Regions from separate parts of the Homo sapiens genome. Here region 1 is linked to region 2. The links are contacts of gene promoters, found by promoter capture Hi-C in blood cells and fetal thymus (Javierre and others, 2016). All regions are on one chromosome and are shown on one strand. The core of a region is centred on a gene start or on the middle of the fragment in contact, and the rest is flanking DNA. Distances in the headings are between cores, read along the strand shown.

What was found. The method cuts DNA at HindIII sites, captures the fragments that hold promoters and counts their contacts. A CHiCAGO score of 5 or more calls a contact.
Region 1: a contact is called between a fragment that was not itself captured here and the fragment with the promoter of DCUN1D3 in region 2, in 7 of 17 cell types (M1 macrophages, M0 macrophages, monocytes and 4 more). The highest score is 10.9, in M1 macrophages.

The regions. Positions count from the first base shown.
Region 1 is chr16:21,299,247-21,305,503 of GRCh38, forward strand. It overlaps a transcript of CRYM not described here and the pseudogene ABCA15P. Among named protein-coding and RNA genes, the nearest start is that of CRYM, 24 kb to the left of the region's middle. RefSeq lists a silencer at 2,440-2,699 and an enhancer at 3,142-3,730. The HindIII fragment of the contact is 2,136 bases long and covers 1,492-3,627 here.
Region 2 is chr16:20,894,791-20,901,688 of GRCh38, forward strand. It overlaps DCUN1D3 (defective in cullin neddylation 1 domain containing 3), which reads right to left and starts at 5,568. Exons shown (of 3, transcript NM_173475.4): 1 at 5,414-5,568. LYRM1 (LYR motif containing 1) reads left to right here and starts at 5,981. Exons shown (of 4, transcript NM_001128302.3): 1 at 5,981-6,099. RefSeq lists enhancers at 5,128-5,177, 5,387-6,172, 6,173-6,898. The HindIII fragment of the contact is 5,697 bases long and covers 4,657-6,898 here.

The sequences.
Region 1 (6,257 bases), core at 1,310-3,809, 400 kb after region 2:
CTCAGCACTGCGTTTAGGAATAAAGTCTCGTAGCAACATTAGGCTTTTAGTTTTTTTTTTTAATTTTTTTTTTACTTTTTGAAACAGAGTCTCACTCTGTCACCCAGGTTGGAGTTGAGTGGCGTGATCTCAGCTCACTGCAACCTCTGCTTCTTGGGTTGAAGCGATTCTCCTGTCTCAGCCTCCCGAGTAGCTTGCATTACAGGAGTGCACCACCACTGCTCGGCTAATTTTTCTATTTTTAGTAGAGACAGGGTTTCGCCATGTTGGCCAGGCTGGTCCCAAACTCCTGACCTCAGGTGATCCGCTCGCCTTGGCCTCCCGAAGTGCTGGGATTACAGGCGTGAGCCACTGCACCTGACCACATTAGACTTTTAGAAGGCTCAGGTGTTTTACATTGGGCAGGTGAACTGGCTAATATTTGTACCCTCAATCATTGCTATGAACTCCACATAATAAGACTAGTTCATGAGGAATAAATCTGCCGAAACCATTAACTATATCATGGATACCAAAGAGATTGGGTTAGCAGGTCATATTGCCTTTTGTATTAACCTCCTCTATCCACCCCTTCAAGTATATAGTTAAGTAAATGTAGCAATATTTTGGTGATTTCAAATTAAGTGTGTAAGATTATTCACCGGTCCTATTATCCTTTCTTGAGTAGTGTCTTAAAACACAAGAACCAAGGGATCCTTAACTGCTACATTCCCAGCAAGGACTGGGGAAAGGTGATGGTAGAAATCTTGCCCTTGTAACATTGCATGTTAAGTAAGAGAGCACTAATGGTGGGGAGTATTTGGGATTCGGGCATTTGGAATGGGAGCCTGGCATTGTTGGGAGGAGCAGCAGCGTTAGGTTACTTTCCAAACACCCCTAGAGTTTAATTGCCTTGATTTCTTCCCCTAAATCCGACTATTAGTCCATGTCCATCAAGAGATGGCCTCCTCTCACTTTCTCAATTCTCTGTTCTTCCGCCTTCTCACCTCACCCTTCTGTGCCTTTTGTCCTCCAACATACACTTGATAGGAGTGGGGGAGTGGAGGAGAGGCTCATCTGAGTTGGGGGCTGAAGGGGAGATTGCAATGGTAACTGTGTTTTTATTGCTGTTGTTAAAGGTGTTTGGCATTTTGGAGCAAGCTAAAGAGCAATTTGATTTAGAAGACTATTCTGTCAGATCACACTGGAACAAGTCTTCCTGACCTTTGCTAACCCAGAGAAATCATCCAGTGATGATGAAAACGAGGTGCCATGAGATTCCCTCTTAAAAAAAAAAAAAAAACAGAAAAAGAAAAAAAAAAGAAATGCCCTACACGTGAGTCCCAATAAACTCATCTACTCATCAAGCTGGACTGGTCTGAGTCATTCTTTGGTCTGTTGGCTCCTTTCCCAGTTTGGGGCGGAGGATGTTCTATACAGTCCTGGATTTTTCCCCAACCAGGAAGAGAACTCCTTGTCCTGCAGTGTTCCTCTTGCGCCCTCTCCTGACAAAGCTTAACTTCGGAGCTGGAGCAAGTCGTATCCGGCATTGCAGGGAAGAGTGAATTTGGCCTGTGATCCAATCAGAAGCTGCGATTCTAAACAGGAAGCCACACTGGATGCGAGAATTGGGGTGGGGCGCGCCAAGAGGAGCAAGCATTATAGAACGTGGGGAGCATGAGAAATACACGGAGGTGGAAACGCCGGAGTGGCTGGCGGGTAAAGGCAGCGGGCGCAGATGAAGCGGGCTGGGCGTCCCACGCGCAGAACCGTCCCGGACAGAAGCCGCAGGGCTGCGCTGGCTGGAAAAAGGAACGCGAGTACAGCGCGCGTGGCGCGGGGTCTGCTCCAGGACGGAATCTTTTGGGTGGCCCGCATGAGGGGTTTGCAGGACCCCGGGCCTTTGGGAAGTTATCTGCTAAACTCCAGTAGACCCTGAGGAGCAGCGGCTCATGAATCTTCTTAAACTTCTGTCATCAGCGGCTGGGCCAGCTGAAGGTGACCATGGCACACGAGGGAGAGAGAAGCCCGCGAGAGGCGGAGAAATGTGGGGTCGTCCAGGAGGGTCGACAAGGCAAAGAACCTGAAGACGACCCAAAAGGGTACCTAGGTGGGGCCCTTTCAGGGACTTGGGGCATAGGGTAGGGCGCATGGGACGAGGTGGGTGAGCGCAAGGGACGAGATGGGTGTGCGCATGGGACGAGGTGGGTGGGAGCATGAGACGAGGTGGGTGGGGCGGTGGGTGAGGTCTCCGCCCCCAGACGGGCTGGCGAGGAAGCAGGGAAGAAGTAACGTTGGGCTGGTGAGGCAACAGGTGGGGCGCACTGGAGCTGCGGGATAATAGGTGGAACAAACTGGGGACTACACTCGTGGGCGCACGTGCGGAAGAGGGACTGAGGAGGTTCTTGCGTGCTCCCCTCGAGCACCGCCGACAGCTTCACCCGCACCTCCTGCCTTCCGCACCGCTGACTCCTACCGCTCCGCGCACTGCGCGCCCCCAGCCCTAGTGCAGCCAGCTCCCGGCCGGGTCCGCGCGAGGGCCAGGCTGCCAACCTGCCCGCGGGCGGCTGGTGGTTGGGGAGGGCGTTGGGAGGAGGAGTCCCGCCGGGTGGACGCGCGCCCTTCAGCGGCGGAGGCGGAGGCGGCAGCGGCGAGGCCTGAGGGTGCGTGCTAGGGAGTCCTGGCGCGTCCTTCTTCTGCCGGCGTCCCCCTGCGCTTGCAGCTGCTCCCCGACGCCCGGGAGGCCCACCCGCTAGCCGCGATGGGCGCGCAGAGCCCAAAAGGGCGACCCCCAAACAAAACTCACGCATATAAATCCTCCAGAGACTTCCTCATCCCCCCGCCAACACACACACACCCACACACACATACACACAATCAAATCAAATAGAAGCACTGTTAGGAATTTTATATTGGCTATGCAAAGTGCTTGAACGCACTGACTTTGGAGGCAAATGCCTTGTCCCTAGTCCTGACTAGTCCAGAATTTATTTGCTGTGACCTATGGCAAATTGCTTGGTTTCTCTAAGCCTCCATTTCCTAAGGCTTATATCTGAAAATAACTATAAGAGGAAAGGATGCTATTGTATCCAACTCAGAGGGCAGTCCTGATACTTACATTGCGAGAACATGTTAAGTGTTCCATAAATGGCAGAAGGGGCTGTGGAAGTTCAGTGATTATAGGTAGTTTAATTTGTCTTAGTTTTCCTTTGTGAAAGCATAAATTACACCAGAGAAAGTCACATATGTAAGGAATACTTTATGCAAAGCTGTTGTCCTAGGGAAGAGAGACCAGAACTCAGTCTAAACTAACTCTGCTGAAACAAAGTGGGGCAGGGTTTTTAAGCTCTAGGATGAGAGTAGAAAGGTGCTGGAGGGCTGTCGGAAGCATACTGAGTTGTTTGCTGAGTTTACAAGTGTTTCCTCCGTGATTAGGCCAGCTGTGTTTGCTAATTGGCTCTCAGGGAAGTTAGGCTCCTACCCTCCCACAGAAACTGGGAGATAGGGGGACCGTCTTCCTTGATGATTGCATTTCAAAGGAATGGCTCCCAGGTCCTTGACAAAGATGATTCTGGTTTGTAAAACTAGTAAGAGGCTATTAAAAAGAGTTACAGATATCTCAAGACAGAGAAAGAATTTACAGTGAAAAGCTTTCTAAAGAAAATGCTCTGTATTAATCTGTTTTCACACTGCTGATAAAGACATACCCAAGACTGGGCAATTTACAAAAGAAAGAGGTTTATTGGACTTACAGTTCCACGTGGCTGAGGAGGCCTCACAATCACGGCAGAAGGTGAAAGGTATATCTCACATAGTGGCAGACAAGAAAGCTTGTGCAGGGAAACTCCCCATTTGAAAACCATCAGTTCTTATGAGACTTACTCACTATCATGAGAAGAGCACGGGAACAACCCATCCCCATGATTCAGTCATCACTCACAGGGTCCCTCCCATAACACGTGGGAATTATGGGAGCTACAAGATGAGATTTGGGTGTGGACACAGAGTCAAACCATATCATGCTCTAAGAAAAGAAAGTTTTGGGCCTAGAGTCAGGAAAAAGCCTTTTCAAGTCAAGCTGAGAACTTTAAGGTGGTCTTGGCTACCTCATTTTATGCAAAGTAGGCAGAAAATTTAAAAGAAAAGAAACATATTTAAGTACAATTAAGAAAATTACAGTGTTTCAGTTAAAGCAGTTCAGTGCTTTTTAGAAAAGGAGCTGAAATTAAATAGTAAGTATAAATTTAATTCTAATAATTCAGGGCTATGAACCATGTAATTGCTTAATTTCCAATAACTATTTGTTCTTTTGCGACTACAGTTTGGCAGGTTGCCCTAATAATTTTCAGGCATTTTAGGTTCATGCTCCTTCCAACCCTCCTTTTCCCTTACAAGGGTTGCATCCAAGTTATGAGGGATAAGGGTGGGGGGTGTTTCATATTTAGGACCAGGATGTTGATGTGTACTTATTCCTGGCCAGGCTGTTTTGGAGTCAGGACTCTTGCGCTATAAGATCCCCCAAATCTATTTTGGGAATAGTGAAAGGGATGGGATGATGCTGAGGAGCCGGGCTTCGGCATTTCCTTATTGTGCATTATTTCCAATCCGTTGTTTTACCCTGGAAAGGGTCAACTGAAAGAACTGGCCATTGTCTTTGTAGGTATTAAGTATTGCTCTGTCTTCCCCGAGACCAAAAAATAAAAGATTGAATGAGGGATGGTACTGAATTGAAAACTTATGGTTAATATTCCAAAACATTACCCACTAAAAGAGCAAGAGAAAAAAGTTAGTGGGAGAGTGTTTCAGATGATTCCTTCTTCACAGGTTTACCTGTTCCCCCACCTGAAGAGTTAATTAGAAAAACAATACAGGTACATTACATAAAATTCAAACTCTATAGACATACAATTTGTAAAATGTGTAAGTCCCCCATTTTCCACCTCCTGAGGACATACTATCAACAGATCTTCTACCATTTTTCTTTTCTGTACATGTACTTCTTTTCTCTACATATATATTTTTCCAAACAATGTGTTTATATCATGTATAATATTTTGCAGTTTACTTTTTCTACCTTAGTAGTATATTATCCTCTCATGACAGTGTATCTATATCTATCCCTTCTTTGTAACAGAGGAACAGGATTTTATTGAAGGTATTGGCATGATTTATGTAATCATTCTTTCTGTTTTCATTTGATCTTACTGTTTTCCAGTGTTATCATGAACATCTTTCTGCCTGAATCTTTGTTTTGCTATGGTTTTGCTTTATGAACTTTGTTTCTAGGTTTGTTTGCTTTTTTTTTAAATAGCCTTTAAGACTTGGATCTGCTGCATAAATTCCTTTAAAGTTTGCAGACATGTATTGAGTGTATTGATCAGCTGCACTAAGGAGTAAGCACCTGATGTGAAGCCCCCTTCCATGAAAAATCCTTTAAGAATGGCATAGTTGTGAAGTTGGAAGGCTGTATGAATCACAAATTGATTTTACCCCATCACCACATCAGCCAAACACCTGCTCTGCCATTTTGATTAAGATTCGTCATGTATTTCATGCCAGTAATCCCAGCACTTTGGGAAGCCAAGGCAGTTGGATCACCTGAGGTCAGGAGTTTGAGACCAGCCTCAACAACATGGTTAAACCCCATCTCTACTAAAAACACAAAAAATTAGCCAGGCGTGATGGCACGCACCTGTAATCCCAGCTACTTGGGAGGCTGAGGCAGGACAATCGCTTGAACCCGGGAGGTGAAGGTTGCAGTGAGACGAGATCGCGCCATTGCACTCCAGCCTGGGCAACAAGAGCAAAACTCCATCTCAAAAAAAAAAAAAAATTAATCATGTATTAATTGAGATTTGCAGGGCCGTGTGCTTTATATAAAACAATGCACAATGCACTAAGCTCCATGGTGTTTGAGAGACAAAGGAGAACAAGATACCATCCCCACCACTGGGTAGTTTAAGATTATTGTCTGTATCCAGTATATAGCAATTGTAATGATTTCTAAAATGTTTTTCTATTGAGATACAGTTTACATGAAATGAAGTGCTCAGATTTTGAGTGACAGTTTGATCAGTTTCAAAGAATGTGCACACCTAATCAAGACACAGAACATTTCTGTAACACCAGAAAATTCCCTCTTGCCCTTTCCTAATCAATCACAAACCCCTCCCCTATAACCATTGATGTCATTTTTGCCTATACCTTTATATGAATGGAATCATGCAGAAGATACTATTTTGGGTATCTTACTTTGTCTTCCTTGTACCCCTTTGTGA
Region 2 (6,898 bases), core at 4,318-6,817:
TGATGTATGGTATTTAAAGAAGGTCTCATTTGCACACATCTTAAAGAAAATGATTTCCCTATCTGCCATTCTCTTCTTTCAACATGTCACAACTTCAAAGAATAAGAGTTTGAGCCACTTCCAATCTTTTCTTTCATTTTCAGTGCAATTGGCCATCTGTATCAATAGGTTCTACATTGGCAGATTCGACCAACCATGGGTCAAAAATATTTGGAAAAAAAAAACCTAATAACAATACAACAATAAAAAATAATATGAATTTTTTAAAATACAGCATAGCAACTATTTACATACCACTTACATTGTATTTGGCTGTTGTTTTTGAGATGGGGTCTTGCTCTGTCACCTAGGCTGGAGTGCAGCAGCTCCATCACGGCTACTACAGCCTCAACTTCCTGGGTTCAAGCAATTCTCCTGCCTTAGCCACCCCAGTAGCTGGGACTACAGGCATGCACCACCATGCCTGGCTAAGTTTTTTAAATTTTTTTAGAGACAGGGCCTGACTATCTTGCGTAGGCTGGACTTGAACTCCTGGCCTCCAAGCAATCCTCCCACATAATAAAACAAAAAGGGGGCAGGTATTTGTAGTAGCCTCCTAACGTGCTGGGATTACAGGAATGAGCCACCACACCCAAACTGTATTAGGCATTATAAGTAATCTGGAAATGCCTCCTGAGTAGCTGGGACTACAGATGTGCATCACCGCCACTCCCTGCACCTTCCCATATACTACCACTTTATGTAAGTCTTGATCATTTGTGAATTTGGTAACTAAGGGGTCCAAAACCAATCCCCCAGGATACCAAGGGGATGTAAATATGTTACGCTCTAGTTTGTAATTATTCACTGATTAAACGGTCAAGTTCTGTGGTAATCCCTTCTCACCACCCAAAAGAATAGGATTCACCATCATCTAGGAACACAGACGTAAGAACTAGTGAAACTAGATTTGAACTGAAAGACACTAACTCAATTAACCCTGGTCCATTGTGCAAAGAGCTCCAGAACAGTCTAAACAGACACAAAGAGATAATTTTAAGTTATCAAGACCCGGGAAAACAGGAGTTACCACGTCATTACCATTGTTTCAATCTAAGTTACCACTTCTTCACCTCAAAACAACTGGCAACTACTGCACAATTAAATGTCCTTACTTCAGCACATAGACAGTCCCAGACTACTTCAAGTACTTACACAACCATTCTGTTTTTCACTTCCAGTATTCACTCAATAAATTACATGAGATATTCAATATTTTATTATAAAATAGGCTCATTAGATGCATTTGCCAAACATGCCAAACATGCAGGTTCTTGGCATGTTTAAGGTAGGCTAGGCTAAGCTATGATGTTCGGTAGGTGAGGTATATTAAATGCATTTTTTTACTAACAATATTTTCAACTTATGATGGGGTTATAAAAGGTAACCCCACTGTAAATCAAAGAGCATCTGTACACCAAAACAGTAGCAAAATCTGATTACCTTTTAGTCGTGTAATGCAATGTAAAACCACTTACCCACAACTCCAATAGCAAGTGGCATCAACTGGCTTTCTAGGTTGCCCACCTTTCAGAAGAGTTTGTCCAAAAGCCTGCAAAGTGTAAGAAATAAATCCACTGGTACCCTAAATTAAAAGGCCAGCTCAGCTCCGAAAATCCAATCCACTTAAATTTGTGGATTCTTTCCCCAAACACAATTAGTAGCCAATGTAGGAGACAATGGCTTCTCCTTGTGTTCAAGTCCCCTCCTACCCACCCGCCCCCTTTCAAAAATTAGAAAAGAGCCACCAGTCTCCAAACTGGCTGATGAAACTTCAGCCTACAGGATATTTTCATATTTGAGTTACAATAAACCATTGAAATGAAAATGAAGTGGAGAGCTTAATAACCCATCAGATAGAGCATTTTATGCCAAGCATCAGCATATAAGTTAAGTCCAAAACCTTTAACCTGGGCCAAAGCCAAATAATTAAATTAACAAATCTCACTACCAATTCTCTATTCCTTTGAGATACTCTAGTATGAAGAGTAGAAGTTGCCTGTTCCTAGATGTTTACTTTAGTCATTTGCTTGCTAACTAAAAGACATTCTGTTTGCAATCAAATCAGAATTAGTAATTCAGTACCAGGATCTACCTCGTCCCCTTCATTGCCCCCAGAACTGCCCAGAAAGCTCTGTTCAAGTTTTCGATAATCCTTCTACAGGTGCCACGAGAATACTAGAACCTAAAACAGGTGACAAGTCCTCAATTTCTGATTCGTTTTCCCCAAACACTAAAAGGTTTTATTTAGCATTTCTAATACTGAGTTTACTACAAATAGCCCAAGCAACATTTAAGTCTCTCAACTGCCTGGCTCAAAGAGCCAATTCACTCAAAGAACACACTAGTCACTGTTGTAGGGTTCAAGAGAAGAAAAAAGCATATTCTGTTTCAGCCCAGTGTGACATGGCTCAAGAGGGCCAAATCAAGGAGTCTTGATTGGGCCTCTCAAGTGGACGGTCTGGTCAAGGTGAGGCTGAAAAGCAGCACACCATTAGAGATGAATGCCCTCAGCAGAAGGCAAAAGTAGGTTACATCCCTTGGTTACGTGCCAGCCCAAAGATGCCGACACAGTGGAATTGAGCCCCACAATGGTCATTTATCTAATGTAATCCACTGAGTGAACTTTTAGTACCAACCTACACCTCAGCTGAGTGTTATTAGTCATCAGAAGGATCAGACAAGAGTGGAACTATTGCAACATAAACTGCCTCCCTACAAAAGACAACTTGAAACTTAGATCCTGATGGTCATCTTGGTAGATGGATAAGGGCATATTATTAACACTTGCCCAGTCCTTAAATTCATACAGAGCTGGAAACAAAGGAGGATTCGTATACTAGAACACATTCAGAGAACTTATTATGCAGTTTTAAACAGCAGTATATAAGACAAAATAAAGAAAGAGGTGTGTCCTCAATTGAACATCCTGCTGAAAATCTGAACACCCAGCTTGAAATTTATCTGCCAGAAAAGACCCAGGTGACCACTGCCTCTTCCTCTCCCACTCAGCAGAGTGACTTTATTATGATAGTCCAACAGTACCTGCAAAAACAGTAAGTGATAAGACCCTAGTTAAGGCGACAGAATTAATCAACAAGCAGCATCATTTTCTACTTCCTACTCCTTCTGGCAATTTGTTTGCCTACCTATTCTGAGCCCCATATCCACCTCTCTGACCTTATCTCCAACTCTCCCCCGTGTTCACTAAGCTCTGGCTATTACTCACCCAACCCATCCTCTTTCCACTACCTCCCACCTACCCTGACCCTTTCTTCCCATTCCCTGGAACTTGACAAGCGCATTCCAGCCAGTTTCTGCACCAGCTGTTCCCTGAACCTGGAAGGATCTTCCCCTTTTCTTTGGATGGCTGGCTCCTTCTTTATACTTAAAGCTCAACTTAAGTGTCACTTCCTCAGAAAGATCCTCTTTGACTGCATCTACAGTTAAGACACTTTCAATCACATCACTCTTATTTTCTTCAGCGCTTGATCAAAATCTGGTTTACTGGGATATATATTATGTCTCTCTCTGTCCCCAGCTCCCACTCCGATGTAAGCTCCATGAAAGGGTGAACCTTTTGCTTGTGTTCACCTGTGTACACCCAGTGCCTGAAACACTGGCTAGCACTTAGGAGTCAATAAATGTTTGTTGAATTAATGAACTGTGAACTTTTTAGTCAATGGCAAACTAGGTTCTAAATCAGTTAAAGTGAGAACAGTAGTCATTCTTCTGTTGTATTTTTGTGAAACATCTAAACACGCTGTTACTGGTATAATCAAGCATTAAATATTCTGTTTTTTAGGGCCCGAAAGCCCTGAATAGGACTTCCTAGCATCAGATCTTCCTAGCACTATGCATATCAAGCTCAGTTACAGAAGGACAGGACTTACGGGCACTTTCTAATCAAAGGACTCCGAAAATGTAGGCACTATCTCTTAAAGTTCTTCAGAAAACAGTTTCAGATTCTACAAAAGATTTCCGAAGAATGTATCAACACCAAAAGGAAAATCATAACACTTCACTCTGATATCTGTCTGAGAGGCTAGAAGAGTGCTCCTTGATTTTTTTTAAACCAACAGCATATCAACAAAGAGGCCTTCTTTCCATTCTTTGCTTCAAATAATTTTTTCACATCCGTTATTGGTTTGTATTCGCCCTTAAACCAAAACTAAACAGATCACACTGTCTCATTTAGGACCCCCATACACAAAGAATCAGCTACGTAAAGATGAAAATCAGCACAAGCTGAACGTGTCACTGATGATTTGTGTGTCACACATAAATGGAGAAAAACATAAAAGAGCTATTGTCCAATTGTAGAAACAAAAAAGTAATATGGGGTTTTCTGTTCTCTGAAGTGCATCATGAAAAGTGGGTGGAGAGAAACACAGAAATCCAGAATTAGCCTAGCAAATCATTTTGGGAAGAGCTGACAACATGTAAATTCCTCACACATAAAGTATTTCGAGCAAGAGACCTTGATTCCTGGGCTATGATGCCATTCAGGATTCCTTGCAAAGGCTCTGGAATTCCAGTATTCATAAAAGAAAATGCTCATTATAATCGGAGCGTAAGAGGTACTCCCAACGTGACAGCCTGTATGAAGTATTACAAAGCTTACAGTTAAGATCTGGGATAGAGGCTGAACACCAAATTCAAAAGAGGTAACCAAGGCACTAAGTGCCATAAAGGAGGAAAGGGGAAGAAAAAAAAATCCACTATTGCCACTCAGCCACAGAGAATTAAAGTGGAAACCAGGGGTGTGCATGGGGGAGGATGAGGGGTGAGAAGTGCGGGGGGTGTGGTGGAGGAACAAACAATACATTTGTCACCCCGTCCCACTTCCTATAGAGGATACAGGCAAAGCCTCCAGCCTCATTACCTCGGACACAGATGGTTATCGTTTATAGCAAAGGTGCACAAAAAGGCCTTCAGGTCTGAGCCCCTTAATTCCAGGGCTGTTAATGATTAAAGAGAACGATGGGGGTGGGGAGGGAAATGAGGGCGGAGGGAGCTGGGAGATTCACCCACCACCTCCCCCTAGGGCTCCTACCTCACAGCGCTCACCCAGGACAGAGGACCAGAGTCTGCACCCCCTCCAGGGCAGCTCCAACCCCATATCCCCAGGCCCTGGGTTGAGGGGTGCTGGCGGTGGGGAGGCAGGGACAGTAGGTAAGTTTTCTGAGCCCTGCGGCTGACACGCCACAGGCTCCCCTCACAGCCTCTTCTTTCAGAGGTACCACTCCAGACAACGCGCTGACTTCCACTCCTCCCTTTCCACCCCCCTTTCTCGAAGGTACCCAACCCCCGCCCCTTCATCTCTCAATGCCCCCCCGCCTTTTCCTCAACTCCCCCCCTCCCCAAAACTCACAGCTGCTCCAGAGGTTCCTCCAGTCAAACCCTTTCTGGAAACGACGGCGGCCCGGCGGGTCCAAACCACCTACCATCCCCGCTCGCGTTTCCAGGCTCCCTACCCCCGCCGCCGCCGCCTCTTCTTCCACCACTGCCACCGCCTCCTCTTCATCTGCGGCCCACCGGCGGCGGCCGCCCCGAAGCCCCGCCCCCTCCATCGCCTCCTGCATCATCACTTCCGGTAACCCCGCCGGCCGCCAGCTCCAGGAGGGAGAATGGGAGAGGGGCAAGGAGGGAACGAGTGGAAGATTGCGTCACGACGCACATAAAGACGTACGAAGCCGTCGCCAAGTAAGGGCAAAGACCTAGCAACCCGGAGGGAGCTGGGCTGGACCATTTTTTTTTCTTGTTTTACGGGAATGGAGCGGGGAGGATAATGAAAGCGTAAAGGAAAAATAGGGGGAGGAGGAGCTCAGCTTATTGTTGGATGCGGCGGGAGATGGGTAGAGTCAGTCAGTCGAGACTCCCCCAGACCTGGAACTGGTGCTCCCACAGAGGTGGGCCCGGTGGTTTGGTCCGGCCTGGCCTACTGGACCAGCCTGTGCTCGGTCGGCCACGGCTCTGCTGGGCTCCTGGCGCCGCCTCCTCCCAGCCCGCCGCGGGCTGCGCGCTTCTGTGGGTGGGGGAAGGCAGGACTGACGCAGAGTGAGTGTAGGGGATGGAGGCGCCGACTCCAGGCGCGGGAGACTGGCGGGGAAGGGGTTGGCTCCCCACGGGCAGGGATGGTTTGGAGGTTGGGCTGCGGCGTTGCCGGGAGACGGGCCTGTGTGACCCCAGCTTCGCGGGGGCGGCTCGGTGTCATCGCCACCGGCCTCGGGGACCTGCCTCACGGAAGTGGCTCGCGCGTCCAAGAGGGGAGGCCTGGTGTGGGGACGCTCAGGTGCCGGCGTGGGGCCCCCTCGGAGGCTGTGAATCTTTTGGACCCCCGAATGTAAATGGGAGATGGTAGGGGCCGGTCCGGGGGCGAGAGGTGTCTGGCTGGGGAACGTTGACCCACACCAGGTCCCGTACAGGAACGGAGACTCCCTAGGACCGTGAGAGCCAGCTTCGTAATTCTCTTGCTCTTCAAACCTGAGAGTAGGGTGTTGCTCCGTTACCTTCCATTCGTGTGCAGGAGAGAGTTAAGTAAATCAATAAAGAAGGTATCAGCAAGTGAGAAATGCCCCCCAAAGACCGGATGAGGTGACAGAAGATGGGGGGAGGGCCCCTCGAAATCGGGTAAGGTCGTTCAAAGGAGGCCACGGTTTTGCGGGGATCCGAGACAATGGGTTTTCTGGGTGGAGAGAAGAGCCAATGAGAAGGACTTTTAGGTTGGAAACAGCCAGAAGGCCATGTGGCTGAAGCAAACAGAGCCAGGGCCGGAGTGCCCTGTGATGTAGTTGGGGAAGTGGCATGACTGTAGCAGCGCCTTTTAGCCCAAGGCAGGGGTTTGGCTAATGTGTAC